Linked DNA regions of Homo sapiens: regions 1, 2 and 3 are each linked to region 4. The links are contacts of gene promoters, found by promoter capture Hi-C in human tissues and cell types (Jung and others, 2019). All regions are on one chromosome and are shown on one strand. The core of a region is centred on a gene start or on the middle of the fragment in contact, and the rest is flanking DNA. Distances in the headings are between cores, read along the strand shown.

Region 1 (3,416 bases), core at 698-3,197, 240 kb after region 4:
ATATTTTATGCATTCAAAAAATAAAATTTAATCATAAAAGAAAATAAAGCAATCCCTAAAATAAAAAAAAAAACAACTGAAACTTAACTATGTATGAAACTAGGTAACAAAACCACATGGAAAAAATAATCATTACCAGGAAGTTTTGAAGGCAGTAATCTGACTGTATATCCTTAGGATATATTCTAAGGATCAAAAAGGAAAACTGTAAAGAAATCTTAAATCTTACTTAGTATTTTTACTCTTAGTAGTAATATTGGTATTGTAATGCTGAAATGATGTTATGAATAGCAAATAAATAGGTTAATATTTAAAAAAAGATAGTGTGAGAAAATATAAGGAAAACCCTTTAATGATAAATTTGAATCATAAACAATATGAGCTTGAATATTTTTTAAAAATATAACTTCTAGTTTAGTCCACTGATACCTTATCTTGCCATACATTGTTGTACCAGATGATCTCTAATTATCAACCCCACTAAAATGAACAAAAGCTCCCTGGAAATCACACTGGTTGATTTCAGTGTGAGCCAGAGGACACATAGGCGAGCCTGGGACATACTGTGGTGGAAGCAAGGAAGCACTCCAAACTAGTGGGAAGTGAAGAGTGTTAACAGAATGTAGGAGCCAAATTTAAGGGGCTCCCACTGGGCAAATATAAAGAATTATGACTGTAAAACACAATCAATGAAAATCTACGCGTCAAATGATACTAAAAAGAACGCATCTGACACCAAAATTGAAGGCAATTAATGGCATCAACTTCTTATTCTAATTAAAGAGAAAGAATTAAGCCCCTGTCCCCATTTTAGGATGAACTAAAATTCACCTCCAATTAATGAGGAAAAACTCTTCTTTCCAGAACAATACCAGCTATTAAATGTAAAAGGAATTAGAAAATTGCCATTTTGTAATCCATAGTGAAATAATTCATTTGGGCAAGGAATATCAATCTGTACTAAAACCATCATGTGAAAGGTTGTTAGGGAACAGGATATCTGCACAGTGCCAGAGTATTAATTACCCCACAGATTACCTGCTAATTGCAAAAGGGAAAACACATCTTAACACTGGAAAGATCTGGTGGTCACCATCTCAACCAAGTGATCAAACTTAGCTTCACTTGCTTTAGTACAGTCTGATATCTTGGCTTACTCAAGTGGTACCTTAAGACTGTAGGGGACAAAAGTGAGACTTCTCTAGGTATATTAACTTTTGAATCAGCTATATGTTTTACATATTCAAAAAATAACATTTAATCATAAAGAAAAATAAAAAGTAATCCCTAAAATTAAAAACAAACTGAAACAAATGTTTATACTCCTAACTCTACTAAAAAAAACAAAAAAGAAGAAAACAAATGTCACTGAAACACACTCTTTCCAAAAACTTTAAGCCTGAATCCAGCCAAACCTTTAGAACTAATTATAGGAAATATAAGAGATAGGGAACAAGTTAAACAACACTGGAAGAAAACAAATCAAACAACTGGCCTGGTCTCTTCAAAAAGTCAATGACATAGAGAGAGGAAAAAAAGAGGAATTTTTTTTAGAGACTAAAGAGACATAACAACTAATTACAATTAAATCCTAGTTTGAAAAATAAAACTATAAAATAAATTTTTAGACAATTAGGAACACTTAAATATGAACTGAACATTGGATGCTATCAGGAAATTGTTCATTTTTCTTAGGAAAGGCATACTAAACTACTTAGAGATGAAAGATCATGATTCATACTTCCAAATGAATAAGCAGAATTTAAAATACACGTAATAAATACATAAAGAGAAAGAAAATATGGACAAACATTAATAATTGTTGACTCTGGGGTAAACTGGTGTTTATTATACCAGTCTTTCTATTTAATATTTTCAAAATCAAGAAGTTGGAAAAAAATGCTCAATCCTTCATGAGGCTATATGCTAAGAGGGAGAAAGAATGCTTTCTACCATTCTTTGGAAAAGCACACAAAAGTGGGCACTCAATCAAAATTAAGGGAAAAGTACAGCTAAGAAGTCAGAATGTTCAGATGCTATCGTGACAAGCAGAACCTTTAGAAAGATGAGAGTCTCTGCAGCCTTCACTCACCGTAAGTCGCCCCCTCCATTGGCTGCTGCCTTCCATTGCTCAGACTTTCAGGCAAATTTTTCAAAACTGAAATGAGCTACAAAAAAAAAAAAAAGAGTGTGATATATTCAAAATGAAGGGAAGAACAAAAGCAGAAACACATTACAATTCAGCACCATGAAATAACCTATAACTTTTTTTCTTTTTCTTTTTTCAAATTAAAAAAAAAATCTTTACTATTGGCTCTTCAAGGCTGAACCTATAACTTTAAAAGATCTATGTGGCAGGGTAAGGTAGTACATTGGCTTAAGCTGTGAGGATAGGTGTCTACTTGGGGAAACCTCAGTAGAGATTCTGCTTTCTGTAGAGTACAGGTCATTGATTCACTTCTAGAGAATGCTGTGGAAGCTTTGGCATCAGGATAGCCCGGGCTTGGCTATACACACTCTCACCCCATGGGGGCCAAGGCAGTGAAACCTCACAGGACAATGTACTATGGAGTCACCCAGCTCTGGGTTCAAGTCCTAGTTCTACCACCTACCAGCTGTCTCATTGTGGAAAAGTTATTTAGCTTGTCTCTGGCCTTCAATGTCATCATCTGTGAAACAATCAACAGCAACAACTACCTCAAAGTTGAGAGGGTAAAAAGAAAAAGTCCATACAGTATCTAGAACAGTTGTAGAACACAAGCCAATGTTCAATAAACGGCAGTCACTATTATAAGATCATTTGTGAGGTAAGTGCCTAGAATAGGAAATACCATCTCTACAGGTGGGAAAAAAATATTCCTCTGTATAAAATTAACCCGTTCATATGGAAAACATAAGTTTAGTCATTAAACATTTACCCAGACTCTACTCATGCAGTTTCAATGAATTATATATACAAAGCCACAGAAAAAAGAAGGATCATCTATAGGTAGAATGGTCAGCAGAATTCTAGTGCAAATGACTGAAGCCAGGCAAAGAAATGGAAGGAAAGCTAAGAGTCGCTTAGAAAATTGCTGTTAGTTCATTCTGACAGGGATGCAAGGTATACATACCAGAGTGCGGAGAGTGAAATTGAGAAGAATAGTCTAAGACCTCACTATGGCATGTAGTAGGTCATGTAAGATCACCTGTTTCACTTGAAAGCCTTTATTCAGTACTTACTCTTTGTAAATTCTCAAAGATTTACATGAGATCACAAATGCCAGGCTAATTTTTAGGAAGCCAAAGATAGAAATTACTCTTTTTTGTTTTTAAGAAAATTAGAAGTCACAAAATTGTTCTTCTTTTTATAACCACTTAGGAAACCCACTAAATGAGTAAAAAGCAGTAGGATATTGGGGAATTATACCATGTTG
Region 2 (3,746 bases), core at 693-3,192, 210 kb after region 4:
TGCGGTGAGCCGAGATCACGCCATTGCACTCCAGCCTGGGCAACGAGAGCGAAACTCCATCTCAAAAAAACAAACAAAACAGCAACAACAACAAAAACAAATTAGCTGGGCGCGGTGATGGGCTCCTGTAATCCCAGCTACTTAGGAGGCTGAGGCAGGAGAATTGCTTGAACCTGGGTGGCGGAGGTTGCAGTGAGCTGAGATCACACCACTGCACTCCAGCCTGGGCGACAGAGTGAGACTCTGTCTCAAAAAACAAACAAACAAACAAACAAAAAAACCTGCCAGTTGTGACTATGCCCCTATCCCTCATGGCTTCAACAGAACCTGCCACTTTAAAGTCAACAAAATCACCTTTATCAATGTTTAAGTCACATAACCAGCATAATTAGTCAGAGGTTTCTGCTACTTTATTTCAATCTATAGTTGATGTGCATTGTGGAAAATCTGTGCTTATAAATACTAGCCATAACAAAATATTAGAAGCTGAGAGTCTCTGGGAGATGCAACTGGCTTTTTAATGCACGTCTCCATCCCTCACCACAGAAGTACACAGCTATCCTTTTCTTAGATCTCTTCAGGGGAGATCTATCCCTCTTTTCTTCATTGCATTATCTCTAAACCTTACAGGAGGAAAAGGTGCCTACCTGACATCTGTGACATCTCTTCTCATGCTCTTGGGAAAAAAGCTTTTGGAATTTGGACACAGCTATTAAGTTACTCCTCAGTGGCCAGCCGCGATGGCTCACGCCTGTAATCTCAGCCCTTTGGGAGGCCGAGGCGGGCGGATCACGAGGTCAGGAGATCGAGGCCATCCTGGCTAACACGGTGAAACCCCGTCTCTACTAAAAATACAAAAAATTAGCCGGGCGTGGTGGCGGGAGCCTGTAGTGCCAGCTACTCGGGAGGCTGAGGCAGGAGAATGGCGTAAACCCAGCAGACAGAGCTTGCAGTGAGCTGGGATGGCGCCACTGCACTCCAGCCTGGGCGACGGAGCGAGACTCCGTCTCAAAAAAAAAAAAAAAAAAAAAGTTACTCCTTAATTTGTTGAATCTTTGTGCCAAAAGGAGCTGAACCAGTGTAGGTGGAGACAAAGGAAGCAGCATAAATGTCTAACTTATAACTCCCCAGGAAAACGAGAAGAGGAAAAATGAGACACTCCGGTCCCGCTCTGTTCCTCATCCCCCGTTTACAAACCTTACACCTGGCCCACACTCAGTAACAACAAAGACATCTATCACTTTCAGGCCGAGGTCCTGTCTCCAAAATTACTGGCCTCTGCTCACAGTTCTTAAAAGTTTGCTGAGAAAAAAAAAAAGAAAGAAAGAAAGAAAGAAATGTTCCTGGGCTGCAGTCGTGTAGCCCCAGGATGGGTTTACAGGAGGATGCCCCGGTTAAGCCCTGTGCCGCCCCCACCTCCCGCTGGAGACTCACACACAGCTCCCCGCCAGTCCCACCGGTGACAGCCACACAAAGGCAGGGTCACAAGCACACCGACCACCCCACAGCCCAGATTCGGCCCCAGACACACACTCACAAGGGCACGTGATCACGTGCGTGGTCACATGGACCGGCCCACTCAGAACACACTCACAAAGTCACACCAACCAAGGCAGCCACGCGCCACACACACACACCTACAACCCCGCATACCGCACACCCAGCCGCTTCCCAGGGCTTCGCCCACCCTCACCTGCCGTGGCCGCCCCCACGTCCCTTCCCCTCCTTCAGGAGGCCGCTCTTCGCTCCAGTACGAGCGCGGGCCGTGGAGGCGGCTGGGCCCGGGTCGGGGCGGGCGGCGGAGCACTCGGGACCCACGGGCACAGCAGGCTGCGCGGTGCGTGCGGGAGGCCGGCCTCTGAGGGGGCGGGGCGCGTGGCCGAGCGAGCTTGGGCCGCCGCGCTCCCCCCGCCCGACCGCCGCTCAGCTGGCGCGAGACTCCCGCTTCCGGGTTCTCAGAGGGCGGGGCCACGTCGCGAGGAAGGGGCGGTGCTGCGTGGCCCCGGCGGTCGCCACGGCGACGGGCGCGGGGGGAGGCTCCGTGGGATGCTTGGCTGCGGCTGGCGTGAGGAGAGGGCTGAGTTACGTCTGGGTCAGCCTTAGTTCTGCCCTACGTACCTAGGAGGAGGAGGAGGTGGAGGAGGCGCCTGGCCCCTTGGGACCTGCTTCTTCTTTCAGTTCGCGTTTTCTCTGTCGTGTACAGCTTTGGAGGGACACCTTTGGGTTCCAGACTTTGATGAACACAACTTTGTATACTCTTTTCTTAGGAACATTTTTTTTCCTTTGGCACAACCGTAGACGCTCTCCGTAGTCCTCCACTCAAAGCCTCCGCTTCCTTTTTGACGTTCTGGGGATTTCTGGGAACATACGCCCACCCATCTTCCTGTTCCTTCATCACTTTTCCCTTAAAATCAGAGAGAATATTAATACATTTGTAATCATTGTTCTTAAGGTGTTGCAGACGTCACGTCTTAAGGTGTTCCAGACTTCACGACTCCTTTTTTATTAGTAAAATATTTCTGAAATTATGATAAGGTGAATAACATGTAAATCTCCTTGTTTTGAATTTTTTTTTTAGGGATCCTGCAACAAGGTCCTGTTGAAAGTGCCTCTCTCTAATATGTTTTAGGGAAAGCTTGTACCCTGTTTTAGGGCCTGTAGACTTTGCCTTTACCTAGGCAACTGTTTATGGGATTAAGGTCAGGGAAGATTCCAACTAAATTGCATCCTACTTAGTTATCACTTCTGTCCCCTGGCCCAGGAGCCTTGGGTTCCACTCTAGAACTTGGACAAATCCCAAAAGCATTTTCCAAAAGCACGGTGACATACTTACCTTTTTCTTTCTTTCTTTTTTTCTCTAAATCATTTCTTTCGGGGTTGCAACTCAGTCGCAGGAATTCATCTTTTATTGTAAGCACCACATAGATGTATAGAGCACGTTTCCGTGGAGTATTTTAAGTTGGGGGCCTTTTCTCCAACATTTGGAATCGTTTAATGGGTGGAATAACTTGCAAACTACTGGTTGTCTCTGAAACTGGTTATGGATATTCATTACATTAGTTGTCTATTTTCCCAGGTGGTCTCGAAGCTTCAATCTAGAGCAAAGGGAATAGAGTGATTCCACCAGTCCATTAGCACATGATTAGCCCATAAATAATAGGTACTAAATGTATATTGATTGTAATCCCAGCACTTTGGGAGGCCAAGGTGGACGGATCGCTTGATTGAGCCCAGGAGTTCGAGACTAGCCTGGGCAACCTGGGAGACCCTGTCTGTACAAAAAAATACAAAAATTAGCCGGGCGTGGTGGCGCATGCCTGTAATCCCCGCTACTCAGGAGGCTGAGATGGGAGAATCTGTTAAGCCCAGATGTCGAATCCACTGCACCACATCCTAGGTGACAAAGCGAGAGACCTTGTCTGCTCCCAACAAAAAACTATATTGAATGAATTAATGAGTGGAATAAATAAATCTATCCCCATTTCCACATTTGTTCCTAAAGCTGTATTCCTTAGACCCCATCCCTAGACCCCATTTAGTAACAGCTTTAATGAGACCTAATCTATGGATATACCCGTATGTTAAAAGTCATTGTTCTGTTAGTGTGGTAGTAAACTTTGACAATTGACAATAAAAAAAAATCACTATGTAGATATGTTTTGTTACATATCAACTTTTATTACAATGTAGACCAATCCAAAAATAATAAATGTTTTACTTCTTTCAGGAAGGGAAACCATGGTCAT
Region 3 (3,351 bases), core at 751-3,250, 170 kb before region 4:
AGGTTGCAGTGAGCCGAGACCATGCCACTGCACTCCAGCCTGGGCAACAGAGCAAGACTCCATCTCAAAAAAAAAAAAAAAAAAACAGAAAAACTTTTTATAGAAACAGGATCTCACTGTGTTCCCCAGGCTAGCCTCAAATTCCTGAGTTCAAGCAGTCCTCCAACCTTGGCCTACCAAAGAGCTGGGATTATAGGCATGAGCTACCACTTCTGCCAAGATCAGCATTTATAGTTTAAAACGGTTACATCAGTAATACCAGCACTTTGGGAGGCCGAGGCAGGAGGATCACCTGAGGTCAGGAGTTCGAGATCAGTCTGGCCAACATGGTGAAACCCTGTCTCCAAATACAAAAATTAGCCAGGCATGGGCTGGGCGTGGTGGCTCATGCCTGTAATCCCAGCACTTTGGGAGGCCGAGGCTGGCGGATCACCCTGAGGTTGGGAGTTTGAGACCAGCCTGATCAACATGGAGAAACCCCGTCTCTATTAGAAATACAAAATTAGCCAGGCGTGGTGGCACATGCCTGTAATCCCAGCTACTCGGGAGGCTGAGGCAGGAGAATCGCTTGAACTCGGGAGGCGGAGGTTGCAGTAAGCTGAGATCGCGCCACTGCACTTCAGCCTGGGCAATAAGAGTGACACTCCATAAAAAAAATAAATAAATAAAGTAAAAAATAAATAAATAAAGTAAAAAAAATAAATAAATAATAGAACTATCATTTACTGAATTTATTGGTGTCATATCAAGGAATAATATCCACAGTTATCTGAAAAGGCTATTAAATACAAACATTATATACATTATCTGTAAAACAACACACACATATACATATATCTGTACCATATATATTCTATGTAAGGCTGATTTTCTTTGTATACTTGAACCAAAACATTTCACCAACAGATTGAATGGAGAATCCAGCTGTCTTCTATTAAACCAGACATTGAAAATAATATGTTAATATTTAACAGGTTTTTTAATGTTATTTTAACTAACTTAAGGCATACTTTTTTTTTTTTTTTTTTTGGAGACAGAATCTCACTGTGTTGCCCAGGCTGGGGTGCAGTGGCGCGATCTTGGCTCACTGCAACCTCCGCCTCCCAGGTTCAAGTGATTCTGTTGCTTCAGCCTCCCGAGTAGCTGGAATTACAGGCATCTGCCACCACACCTGGCTAATTTTTGTATTTTTAGTACTGACGGGGTCTCACCATGTTGGCCAGGCTGGTCTTGAACTCCTGAACTTAGGTGATCCACCCTCCTTGGCCCCCCAAAGTGCTGGGATTACAGGCGTCATCTACTGCACCTGGCCTTAAATGTTTTCTTCTTTCTTTCTTTCTTTCTTTCTTTCTTTCTTTCTTTCTTTCTTTCTTTCTTTCTTTCTTTCTTCTTTCTTTTCTTTCTTTTTTTTTTTTTTTTTTTTTGAGACAGAGTCTCACTCTGTTGCCCGGGCTAGAGTAGGGTGGCAGGATCTCGGCTCACTGCAACCCCCTCCTCCTGGATTCAAGCAATTCTCCTGCCTCAGCTTCCTGAGTAGCTGGGATTACAGGCATGCGCCAACATGCCCGGCTAATTTTTGTATTTTTAGAAGAGATGGGTTCACCATGTTGGTCAGGCTAGTCTCGAACTCCTGACCTCAGGCAATCCGCCCGCCTTGGCCTCCCAAAGTGCTAGGATTACAAGCCTGAGCCACCATGCCCAGCCAAATTATTTCTTATTTTAATTCTAGTCTGGTAAACATCAGTCAATTTATCCCACATAAATAAAAGTTCTTTGGGGTTCTTAACTTTTTTAAAATCTTTTTGTTTTAATATAATTGTATTTGTAATACAGTACTCTCATGTACCATGTACCCTTTTCCTAGGTTTCCCCAATGATAATATCTTGCAGAACTCTAGCACAATATTGCAACTGGGATGGTAATATTGATGCATTCACCTATTGTGTTCAGATTTCCCCCATTTACTCGTACTCATTTGTGTGTTTTTCTGGGTGTGTGTAGTTCCATACAGTTTTGTCCCATGTATAAGTTCATGTATCCACCACCCAGTCAAGATACAGAACAGTTACATCACCACATCACCAAAAAGATCTCTTGTGTTGACTATTTACAACTACATTTACCTTTCTTCCACCTTCCCCTGCCCACCCCTAATCCCTGGCAGCTGCCAATCTGTTCTCTTTGTCTCTAATTTTATTTCAAAATTGTTATATGTGTGTATGCATGCATGCGTGTGTGTGTGTGTGTGTGTGTGTATTTTTTTGATACAGCATCTCACTTTGTCCCCCAAGCTGGAATGCAGTGGCATGATCATGGCTTACTGCAGCCTCAACCTCCTGGGCCCAAGCGATCCTCCCACCTCAGCCTCCTAAGTAGCTGGGACAACAGGCATGTGCAACCATGCCCAGCTAATTTTTTTTATTTTTAAAGATGGGGTCTTCCTATGTTGCCCCTGCAGATCTGGAAATCCTGGGCTAAAGCATTCTACCCACCTCAGGCTCCCAAAGTGCTGAGATGATAGGCGTGAGTTACCACACCCAGCCCTGTTACTTGCATGTTTTAGTTTTAATTTTTCTTTCTTTCTTTCTTTCTTTCTTTCTTTCTTTCTTTCTTTCTTTCTTTCTTTCTTTCTTTCTTTTTTTCTTTCTTTTTTTTCTCTCTCTCTCTTTCTTTCTTTCTGTCTGTCTGTCTTTCTTGTCCTTTCTTTTACTTTCTTTCTTATCACTCTGTCGCCCAGGCTGGAGTGCAGTGGTGCAGTCTCGGCTCACTGCAACCTCTGCTTCCTGGGTTCAAGCAATTGTCATGCCTCAGCCTCTCGAATATCTAAGAGGCTAATTTTTGTTTTTGTTTGTTTGTTTGTTTGTTTTTTAGTAGAGATGGGGTTTCACCTTGTTAGCCAGGATGGTCTTGATCTCCTGACCTCATGATCCACCCTCCTCGGCCTCTCAAAGTGCTGGGATTACAGGCATGAGCCACCGCGCCCGGCCGTATTTTTTTATAGAGACGGGGTTTCATCATGTTGTCCAGGCTGGTCTTGAACTCCTGACCTCAGGTGATCCACCCGCCTTGGGCTCCCAAAGTGCTGGGATTACAGGCGTGAGCCACGGTGCATGGCCTCATTTTAATTTCTAATATGTTAAATATCAAGGGATATAGCCTACCTAAACCAAGGCTCTTTAAGGTTCTCATTTTTTTTTTTTATGGGACTAGGTATAAGAGGGGGAAAATATGTTAAGTATATGAAAAAAATAAGGCCGGGTGTGGTGGCTCACACCTGTAATCCCAGCACTTTGGGAGGCCAAGGCGGGTGGATCACTTGAGGTTAGGAGTTCAAGACCAGCCTGGCTAAC
Region 4 (3,282 bases), core at 293-2,792:
GAAGGTCTCTGAATAGCCGAGTGGGAGCTGGCGGCGCTGAGCCCAGCCCAGCCGAGGGCCACCGGCGCCATTCTGCACCAACCCCCAGCACAAGGGGAGGAGGCAACACCAGTCCACACCAGGGGCTCTGCGGTTTCTCCCCCAGGCCAAGGGGAAGGGCGCCCAAGGTGGATAACCAGCCCTTGGTTTCCTGGGCGAGAACATGCCAGGGCAGGGGCAGGAAGGCTCTCTCACCCCTAGAATGACGCAGCAGAGGCCAGAGGCCCTGCGAAGCCTGTCCCCTTCTACTCCAGTTCTTGTCTCCGCCAGCCTAGCTCCTCGTCCCTATTCACTGATATCTTTGAGGCTTTTATCCAGCACCCCACCCCGCACACACATCCTCCCTACCATCCATTAACCACCCAGCTGCTGGTGGTTCCACGGAGCCGCCTTACACTCCCTCCCTTTCGCACATGGCCGGTGGACGAGATGATTTCGCCCCTCCTGGCAGGATCCCACCCAGGCCAGCTTTGGGGTCCTGGCTTGGTTGCCAGGACAAACCCAGAGAGAGGAGAAGGACGAACTGAGTGTCTTTAGTCATCTTCCAAACTAATTAAATTGTGGGCTCACCTCTGCCAAAGCCCAGGTTCTGGGGCTGTGAAGAAAGCCCGCCCACCCCCATGACAACAGCTCGCAGGAACCGAGGAGCCGGCCGGCCCAGGCCTCCAAGGTCACGGGGAGGGGGTCAGGGCGGAAAAGGCAGTGGAGTGAGGGTGCCGCCCTCGGGCCGTGCTAATCCCGCTCCGCTCCGTGCCGCCGAGGCGGGGTCCTGGCCACGCAGGAGGTGCGCCTCGGAGGAGGGCGGCGAGCGGCTACGGGGTGGGGAGCAAGGGGCGCGCGGGCGGCAGGCATGGAACGGACGCGGCGCATCTCGCCCACCGCGGGACGCCCGGACGGCGGCCGGCGCGCGCGGCCCGCCTCGAGCCCGAGAGGGCGGGGAGACAATGCCTGTCCGGCGGGGCAGTCCAGGCCGCACGCTCCCGCCCGCGGACACGGGCCGCTCCTACCCGGGCGAGAGGGCAGCGGCGGGAAGGCGCCGGGAGCGATGGCCACCCCGGCCCCGCGAGGCGCGGCAGGCCCCGCTCGCCCTCTCCCGCGCCCGCCTGGCGTGCGCTTCACCCGGCAAGTCCCGGGGCCACAGACCCACCTCCTCCTCCAGGGCGCCGCCGGAGCCCGCGCCGGAGCCGGTGCCGGTGCTGCCGCCGTGCTCGCCGTCCGGCTTCAGGTTGCTCATGGTGCGGGGGAGGGGGCGGCGGGAAGGAACGCGAGGGCGAGCGCGGCGCCGGCCCCGCGGGAAGTGGGAAGGGGCGCGGGGAGCGGTGCGCTCGCGGGTGCGGAGCGGGTGGCGGGGGACCCACGGGGCAGTGAGAGGGGCAGCCTCCGCGTCGGGCCAGGGTCACATCAAGTTTGGCGGGTGCGGAAGGTGGGGAGGGGGTGCGGCGGGGGAGGCAGTGGGAGCCGGAGGGGCCGCCGCCTCCGCCTTTTCACTGCGACCGGCGAGTGCGCCGCGGCGGCGGCGGCGGCGGCAGCGGCGGCGGGGGGCGGGCGCCGGGGGAGGGGGCGGGCGCCGGCGGCGGGGGGCGGGGCCGGAACCGGCCTCAGCTGGGGCCCGGCCAGCCCCCTCCCCCGCCCGCCGCGCGGTCTCCGGGGGAACGCGCAGCCAATCCCCACCGCCCACCGTGGGCTCGCCCCGGCCCCGGCCGCGGGGCGCCGGCCTCCGGCCGGGCCTTTCCCCTCTCTCTCGCCTGGGTCAGCGCTCTCCCTCTCTCCTCTTCCCCCGCGCCCTTCTCCACGGCGAGTTTTTAAACTTTGATGAACTCGCCCGGCGAACTTTCTTAAAGGGGCCGCGCGCTGCGCGCCCCAGCCCGCGGGAGGTGGAGCCCCGTGCCCCGCACCCAGCGCCCCGGTCCCTGGGCGGCCCTGCCCGGGCGGCCTCGCGCTTAGGGCACCCGCAGCGAGGTTTCCGGGCCGTCGACTCCCCTTGTATCTTGATCTAGGGTTTTGGGGTTCCCGACGCACTCATTCTGCCCCTAAATCCAGTCGCGCAGACCTCAGCTCCGGGGGACCGAGTTCTGGGGGTGATGGCCGGGGGGAGGGGGTTGGGAGACACCTGAGCTTTGGCCCGGGCTGGGCGCTGTTTTGCTGAGTGACCTTGAGGAAATCACTTCCCCTCTCTGGCCTCAGGCTCCCAGCCCAGAGGGTGGGACTTAGGATCTCAAACTCCCTTCCCACTCCCAGTCACTATCTGAATAGGACTTAGGTGGGGATTCGAGTGTTGGGACCCCAATGGTCATTAGCGAGGGCTGCCTCGAATGACCAAGAAGGTTCTGTTGCCCACCTTGCCCTCAACACGCCTGGCTTTCGGGTCTTCTCGCTCCTCCCCCGACCTCAGTGCCCCTCACACCTTTCCCTGCCTCCTATTCTGAGCCCGAAGGCTGGGGACGGATGTAATAGCCTAGAGGCTGGGGGAGGTGGGGGAGGTCGTCGTGACTCCCCCCGCACCCCCGCGCAGGTCAGTAGGGCGCGGCCTCTGGGTCGGTTTTCTCTTCTATTTGAAAACCCAGCCGATGGGGGCCCGCCCTGCTGCCACAGTAGAAACCCGCACCCACCTCGGGGAGCGCTGGAAGCGCTGCAGCCTGAATCCGGCAGAGCCGCGGGAGAACTGGGTCCCTCCTCAGTGCCCCTTCTCCTGGACGGGGCGGAGGTTGCGGTGACCCGAGATCTTGCCATTGCACTCCAGCCAGGGCAACAAGAGCGAAACTCCGTCTCAAAAAAAGAAAAGAAAAAAGAAAAGCTGGATTTGCAGTCACGGACTGGTTAGGATCCCAGACCGTGGACAAGTGCCTGAGCCCCCAGAACCTCTGTGTGTCGACCTCCTGAATTAGGTAGGACTAGCACCACAGGATCACTGTGCTGTGGCTTAGTCTTCCCAGTAAATTATAATCTCCATCCTGACCTGCCATCTCACAGATAAATTGAGGCCTAGAGATGGGCAATGTCTTTCCAATGATATACTCATTCCTTTAGTAAATAATTATTGAGCACCTACTGTGGGCTGGGGACCATTTTCTGCTGGTGGCAAGGCCAAGAGCACCCTGGTTTCCCATCAGCCCTGTTGCCAACACTTGGCTCAGGCCCTATGAAGAGGGAGCTGCTGCCTGTAGGAGCCAGACCTTTACCCAGAGTTTTTAAGATGCCTCCAGCCTCAGGCATCTCCAGATAGAACCAACCTTGGGAACCCTC

Evidence for each region. Contacts are between HindIII fragments. The study calls those that stand out against the background at their distance.
Region 1: a contact is called between a fragment that was not itself captured here and the fragment with the promoter of RBPMS2 in region 4, in 2 of the 25 tissues and cell types used here (mesenchymal stem cells and thymus).
Region 2: the fragment with the promoter of SPG21 here is called in contact with the fragment with the promoter of RBPMS2 in region 4 in 3 of the 25 tissues and cell types used here (IMR-90 fibroblasts, mesenchymal stem cells and spleen).
Region 3: a fragment that was not itself captured here is called in contact with the fragment with the promoter of RBPMS2 in region 4 in 1 of the 25 tissues and cell types used here (mesenchymal stem cells).

What each region holds. Positions count from the first base shown.
Region 1 is chr15:65,018,105-65,021,520 of GRCh38, forward strand. MTFMT (mitochondrial methionyl-tRNA formyltransferase) reads right to left here. Exons shown (of 9, transcript NM_139242.4): 4 at 3,410-3,416; 5 at 2,093-2,168. Among named protein-coding and RNA genes, the nearest start is that of MTFMT, 9.8 kb to the right of the region's middle. The HindIII fragment of the contact is 9,263 bases long and covers 1-3,416 here.
Region 2 is chr15:64,987,972-64,991,717 of GRCh38, forward strand. It overlaps SPG21 (SPG21 abhydrolase domain containing, maspardin), which reads right to left and starts at 1,943. Exons shown (of 9, transcript NM_016630.7): 1 at 1,694-1,943. RefSeq lists enhancers at 1,150-1,651, 1,652-2,151, 2,207-2,276, 2,317-2,376 and silencers at 1,380-1,674, 1,477-1,526, 1,647-2,136. The HindIII fragment of the contact is 3,841 bases long and covers 1-2,861 here.
Region 3 is chr15:64,606,493-64,609,843 of GRCh38, forward strand. All of the region lies in intron 2 of ZNF609 (zinc finger protein 609), which reads left to right. The region is part of intron 3 of LOC101930091 (a long non-coding RNA gene); the gene reads right to left. Among named protein-coding and RNA genes, the nearest start is that of OAZ2, 95 kb to the right of the region's middle. The HindIII fragment of the contact is 4,700 bases long and covers 1-3,351 here.
Region 4 is chr15:64,774,047-64,777,328 of GRCh38, forward strand. It overlaps RBPMS2 (RNA binding protein, mRNA processing factor 2), which reads right to left and starts at 1,543. Exons shown (of 8, transcript NM_194272.3): 1 at 1,187-1,543. The coding sequence starts at 1,273. RefSeq lists enhancers at 1,404-2,250, 2,251-3,096 and a silencer at 1,719-1,968. The HindIII fragment of the contact is 13,175 bases long and covers 1-3,282 here.